Linked DNA regions of Homo sapiens: region 1 is linked to region 2. The links are contacts of gene promoters, found by promoter capture Hi-C in human tissues and cell types (Jung and others, 2019). All regions are on one chromosome and are shown on one strand. The core of a region is centred on a gene start or on the middle of the fragment in contact, and the rest is flanking DNA. Distances in the headings are between cores, read along the strand shown.

What was found. Contacts are between HindIII fragments. The study calls those that stand out against the background at their distance.
Region 1: the fragment with the promoter of GJC3 here is called in contact with the fragment with the promoter of SMURF1 in region 2 in 1 of the 25 tissues and cell types used here (lymphoblastoid cells).

What each region holds. Positions count from the first base shown.
Region 1 is chr7:99,927,762-99,930,894 of GRCh38, reverse strand. GJC3 (gap junction protein gamma 3) reads left to right here and starts at 1,275. Exons shown (of 2, transcript NM_181538.3): 1 at 1,275-2,055. The coding sequence starts at 1,275. RefSeq lists enhancers at 892-1,476, 1,477-2,062. The HindIII fragment of the contact is 8,959 bases long and covers 1-3,133 here.
Region 2 is chr7:99,142,645-99,145,561 of GRCh38, reverse strand. SMURF1 (SMAD specific E3 ubiquitin protein ligase 1) reads left to right here and starts at 1,454. Exons shown (of 18, transcript NM_181349.3): 1 at 1,454-1,836. The coding sequence starts at 1,782. RefSeq lists silencers at 1,193-1,692, 1,833-2,162, 2,223-2,272. The HindIII fragment of the contact is 7,331 bases long and covers 47-2,917 here.

The sequences.
Region 1 (3,133 bases), core at 26-2,525, 790 kb before region 2:
GATACCCTGGACAAAGGGATGATTCACATCCTGGGTGGGATGGTGTGAGATTTCATAGTGCTACTCAGAACAGCACACAATTTAAAACATTAATTTTGTATTTCTGGAATTTTCCATTTAATATTTTTGGACCTCTGTTGACTGTGGGTAACTGAAACTGTAGAAAGTGAAATCGCAGATAAGAGGGGGGACTACTGTATTAGGTTCTAGCATATGCATCTTGATCATCATTCAGACCATACCACATGGTCTTCTGAGTGTGAGGGTAACCAGATGAGTGAGAATTTAGGCTAAATGGGGACGGTTTGAAACAGCTGCTGGGCATTGGGGAAGGCAGCTGATTAGGACAAATATAGAGATGGTGAACTTGGGCTTGTAGCATTGTGGTATTTTGGCTGGGGAACAGAGGGATTTCTGAAACTTATCCTTGATCATGGTCGCCTGTCACCATGAGGGAGATAATATGCCCAAGGAACAATGGCAAGTGGGGGTCAAAAATCTGAATTTCTATCTAGTCAGTTCTGGCTCTGGCCCCAAATCCTATAGTATGTAATTCTGGTAAATTCTGCTGGGTTACCTTCCAAATGTTCTCTTCTTCCTCAGCTTGTAAGGCCTAAGAGCATCAGACTAAAGCAAGCCTCGATGCTTGCTCTGTTCATTTCATCCATCACATCTAGCCCCATAACCTAACTACCTCTCAACTTTACCACTGTGATGGGAGAAGAGGACATCCAGACACACCTGTGATCATCCAAGGGCATGGAGGAAGAGAAAAGAAGACCGCAAGAGAATGCACATTCCCTCTCAGCATCAGCACTAATTTGCTTAAGATGATGCTGTAGGAGCACCAGGCCTGGCAGCCATCAGCTGGGGAAGCAATACCTTTCAAAGGAAAATTAACAAAACATCCCAGTCTACTCTCTTACGTTCAGCCTTTGGGAAAGAGAGACGGAGGGAAGGAGGGAAAGAGAGAGATGAAGATGTATCCTGGTCTCTCCAACCTGAGAGTTCCTCTCCACTCCAGCAGTACAGAAGGGGAGGGCAGAAGAGAGAGCCACACCACACACACTCACTGTTATTATTTTACATAGATGATTTCATTAAGTAGTAAAGAGGTGCAATCAGAGTCTTGGTATTTAATCAGTCAGATACTTGGAGAGGAATAAAAAAGCTTGCCTTCAGTGATCCTTGGATTAGGAGTGACAAGGTGGACTGGAGCTCCCTCTGAAGGACAGTGAACAACACTGATCTCTTGTCCTCTGCTCCAAAACAGGATGTGTGGCAGGTTCCTGCGGCGGCTGCTGGCGGAGGAGAGCCGGCGCTCCACCCCCGTGGGGCGCCTCTTGCTTCCCGTGCTCCTGGGATTCCGCCTTGTGCTGCTGGCTGCCAGTGGGCCTGGAGTCTATGGTGATGAGCAGAGTGAATTCGTGTGTCACACCCAGCAGCCGGGCTGCAAGGCTGCCTGCTTCGATGCCTTCCACCCCCTCTCCCCGCTGCGTTTCTGGGTCTTCCAGGTCATCTTGGTGGCTGTACCCAGCGCCCTCTATATGGGTTTCACTCTGTATCACGTGATCTGGCACTGGGAATTATCAGGAAAGGGGAAGGAGGAGGAGACCCTGATCCAGGGACGGGAGGGCAACACAGATGTCCCAGGGGCTGGAAGCCTCAGGCTGCTCTGGGCTTATGTGGCTCAGCTGGGGGCTCGGCTTGTCCTGGAGGGGGCAGCCCTGGGGTTGCAGTACCACCTGTATGGGTTCCAGATGCCCAGCTCCTTTGCATGTCGCCGAGAACCTTGCCTTGGTAGTATAACCTGCAATCTGTCCCGCCCCTCTGAGAAGACCATTTTCCTAAAGACCATGTTTGGAGTCAGCGGTTTCTGTCTCTTGTTTACTTTTTTGGAGCTTGTGCTTCTGGGTTTGGGGAGATGGTGGAGGACCTGGAAGCACAAATCTTCCTCTTCTAAATACTTCCTAACTTCAGAGAGCACCAGAAGACACAAGAAAGCAACCGATAGCCTCCCAGTGGTGGAAACCAAAGAGCAATTTCAAGAAGCAGGTGAGAAGGACACGCTCTCTTCCTGTCACTGATGTTTGTGTCCTGATGATCTCCTCCCGGGGCAGGTCCCTCACCTTTCTGGGAAGTACAACTTCTGCATGTTACAAAGTAGGTAACCAGGTTCTAGGCAGATGTGTTCTGACCGCCACTCCCAACCCTTTTCTTTGTTCTCTCTTGCTCTCAAAATCTATCCCAATGTCCATCCCCATCAACTTGATGGTTCCTTCCAGCGAACAAGGACAAGAGTGCTAGTCCGTTGTCCCTCCTGAACTTCCATTTAGGTCTCTCTCCACTTAGGAAAAATCTCAGCTTCTTCTTGATTCTCTACTTTGCAGAGTTATAAAGACACCTGACTTGCCTGAAGGAAACTCTGTGATTGAATCTTCTTTCCAACATCCAGTGAGTGGGGATTCATGTCTGTGACAAATTAGAGGCTGTTGAAGGATCTCTAAGGGCCCCTTGGGCCATGTAGTCTAAAGCATTTCCTGACTGTGCCTTTTCACTGGAATTTTCTGGTGTCAGCATCACAATTTTTATGGGCTTGGTTCAAGAGTCAGCCGGGAGAAGCCTCCCTAAACTGTGTCTCTCCCCTGTCCTGCTCAATAAATATTGATGACTGCTGTTGGCATTCCTGTTGCTGAAGATAATGCCCCTTCCTGTCTCACTGGCTTCATTTACCTCTTTTCTGTTTTTCCACATTCTCTGCTCCCCTTATCATCAAAGTTTTGTAAATGAATGCCCCTCAGACCTGCAGCACATGTCATAAGCCAGAAACTCTGGGCTTCAAGCATATATAAGTCAGTGTCCTCTAATATCTATAGATTTATCCAAATACCCGGCCATATCCTTAAGGAAAATTACTGTGAATTCAGGGGCTTAGGCCCCCTTGATCACTGATAGCTCTGATTTCTGCTCAATTCTCATTCTTCATTTCTGCAGTTCTCGTTGCAGCTTGTTACAATTGTCTCCAGAACTGCAGCAACTCATGCTGGACCAAGTTCCTACTCTTTAATTTCATAACCCTCAATACCACACAGAAAAAGCAGTAGAGTTCTACTGCTGATATGCTGATTTGGGA
Region 2 (2,917 bases), core at 205-2,704:
GGGTAGTGGGGTCTGGGAGCGGTGGCTTAGGCCTGAAATCCCAGCACTTTGGGAGGCTGAAGCGGGCAGATCACCTGAGCTCAGAAGTTTGAGACCAGCCTGGCCAAAACAGCGAAACCCCATCTCTACCAAAAATACAAAAATTAGCTGGGTGTGGTGGCTAACGCCTGTAATCCCAGCTATACAGGAGGCTGAGACACGAGAATCACTTGAACCTGGGAGGTGGAGGTTGCAGTGAGCCAAGACCGTGCCACTGCACTCCAGCCTGGGTGACAGAGTGAGACCCTGTCTCAAAAAACAACAACAACAACAACAAGGTAGTGGGTAAAAAACAAGTTTGATAAACCTAGTTTTCCCTCTTTCTAATAATACCAGTTTATTTCTATAACATGCTAACAGAGAGGAGTTTGTTTGCTGGAGAAAGCGCATAATGAGCTTTTTCTGTGTGTGTGTGTGTGTGTGTGTGTGTGTGTTTTGAGACAGTGTCTAGCTCTGTCACCCAGGCTGTAGTGCAGTGGCCTGATCATAGCTCACTGCAGCCATGAACTCTGGGGCTCAAGTGATCCTCCCACCTCAGCCTCCCAGTACCTGGGACTACAGGCGCGCACCACCATGCCCAGCTAATTTTTGTATTTTTTGTAGAGATGGAGTCTCCCTATGTTGCCCAGGCTGGCCTCAAAGTCCTGGGCTCAAGTGATCCGCCCGCCTCGGCCTCCCAAAGTGCTGGGATTACAGGCTACAGCCACCGTACCCAGCCATGAGCTTTTGGTTCTAACCTGCAACCCCGGGAGAAGGGGAAATTTAGCAGAAGACATGGGAACACAAACCACAATGCCACTTTCTTGTTTGGTAAAATTGTATGCAGAATGGATAATAACAAACATCCGCCTCTCAACTTTATCCCTCCCTCTCATCTCGTTTTCCTTGTCCGTATATGGCACTTCTGCGATTCTGGCAACTTTGTTATGGGTCAGTGGAGCACACCCGTTGCACAGAACACACCTAAGGGCTTTGTCTCTTTGAGAAGTCCCTCCCTTGAACTTGCACGATCGAAAGCTCTTAACTGAAAAAAACTGGTATTGCACGCCTGTGTGCAAGGAGCTTGGTGTGGACACAGCCCACGGTTTCATGCAAACCACTCTTCAGTCACTCAGGAGCCCAGAGCCTCGCAGAGACAGGGGTCAAGACAGAGGGCGACCGCGCGCTGGGTCCCGGGGCCAGCTCTGCTCTCCCTTCCCGGGCTCGGGGCCAGACCCTCCCACCCACCGACCACAGGAAGGGTGAAGACCCCAACCCGCGGGATCCGGGCCCCGCGCGCCCGAGGCAGGCGTGCGGGCGACGTAGCAGCGCACCCCGCCCCGCCCCAGCGTACGTGGCGGGGGCGCGCACGCACGCAGGCGCGGGGGCGCGCAGGGCCGGGCCGGCACGGCGGCGGGCGCGCGCGCGGCTCGGAGAGGCGGCGGCAGCGGCGGAAGCGGCGAGGGCGGCGGGCGTCCGGCTCTGAGGTGGTGGAGGCGGCGGAGGCGGCGGCGGAGGCGGCGGCGGCTCGGGACTGGGCTCGGCTGGAAGCAGCGAGGGTCAGAGCGCCGCAGCAAGCGCCGATCTCCCGGCTCGACCATCCGCCTGCCGCCCGGACGCCTGGGCCGCGGAGTTTGTGTCCCGGCTCGGACCCCGGCGCCCAGCCCGGAGCCGTAACCTTGAGGCGGCGGCGGCGGGGCCGGGCCGGGCCGGGCTGGGGGGCGGTGGCGCTGGATCCGCGGCTGCCCGATCGTTGGCGGGAGATGTCGAACCCCGGGACACGCAGGAACGGCTCCAGCATCAAGATCCGTCTGACAGGTACGGCCGGCGGGAGGCCCACCCGCGCCCCGGCGCCCCCTCGCCCGCCCCGGAATTCCCCGCAGGGCGCCCTTGGAAGCGGCCCTCCCCCACGCCGGCCGTTGTCCCAGGACCTCGTCACCCCCTTCGGCGTGCGCCCCTCGCTTCTCCCTCCTGGCCCCGCCCCCTCGCCGTTGCCCGGCCCCGCCCCCTGGCCGCTCGCGCCCCCTCGGTCTCGCGTTCCCTCCCGTTCCCCCGCACCTGCCCCCTCGCATCTCCGTCCTGGCCCCGCCCCTCTCATTTCCATTCATGGCCACGCCCCTTGCATCTCCTTCCCTGGCCCCGCCCCTCGCTTCTCTTTTCCTGGCCCCGCCCCTTGCATCTCCTTCCAGGCCCTTTCCCCTCACCTCTCCCCGGCTCGGCCCCTTGCCTCTCGCTTCCCTTCCTCTCCCTAGCACCTGACCCCTCGCTTCTCCCCCCAGGCCCCGCCCCCTTGCCTTTCACCTCCATCCCTGTGGTCCTTTCTCTTCCCCACCTTTCCTCCCCAAACCTGACCCCGCCCATCTCTCTGGCCCCACCCCCTCGCTCCTCTCTGCTCCCGCCTCCTAACTTTCTGTCCCCGCCCCCTCGCTTCTCCCTGCGTCCAGCTCCCTCGCTTCTCTCTGGTCCCGCCTCCTCACTTCTTTCCTAGCCTGGGCCCTCACTTCTTCCTGGTCCCGCCTCCTCACTTCTTTCCTAGCATCGGCCCTCACTTCTTCCTGGTCCCGCCCCCTTGCTTCTCTCCTTTTTTTCTCCTCCGCCGTTTTTACCCCCTCCCTCCTTCTCCTCGCTTCCCATCCTCTCCGCCCACCTGCCCCCTCGCTTTTCCCTCCTGGCCTTGCCTCTGTTCCCCTGGTCCCATCCCTCACTTCTCACCACTTTCCCATCATCTCTCTTGCTTTCCTGTTTTCCCTCCCACCTGCTCCCTCCCCTCATCCTCCTGGTCTTTCCCACCACTTCCAAGCTATTTTGCTACCTCCCCTTCCACTTGCCCCCTTGCTTCTCCCCTCCTGCCCCCACCCACCCTCTTCTCACTCCCCCATCCTCTTTCGTTTCTCCCTCA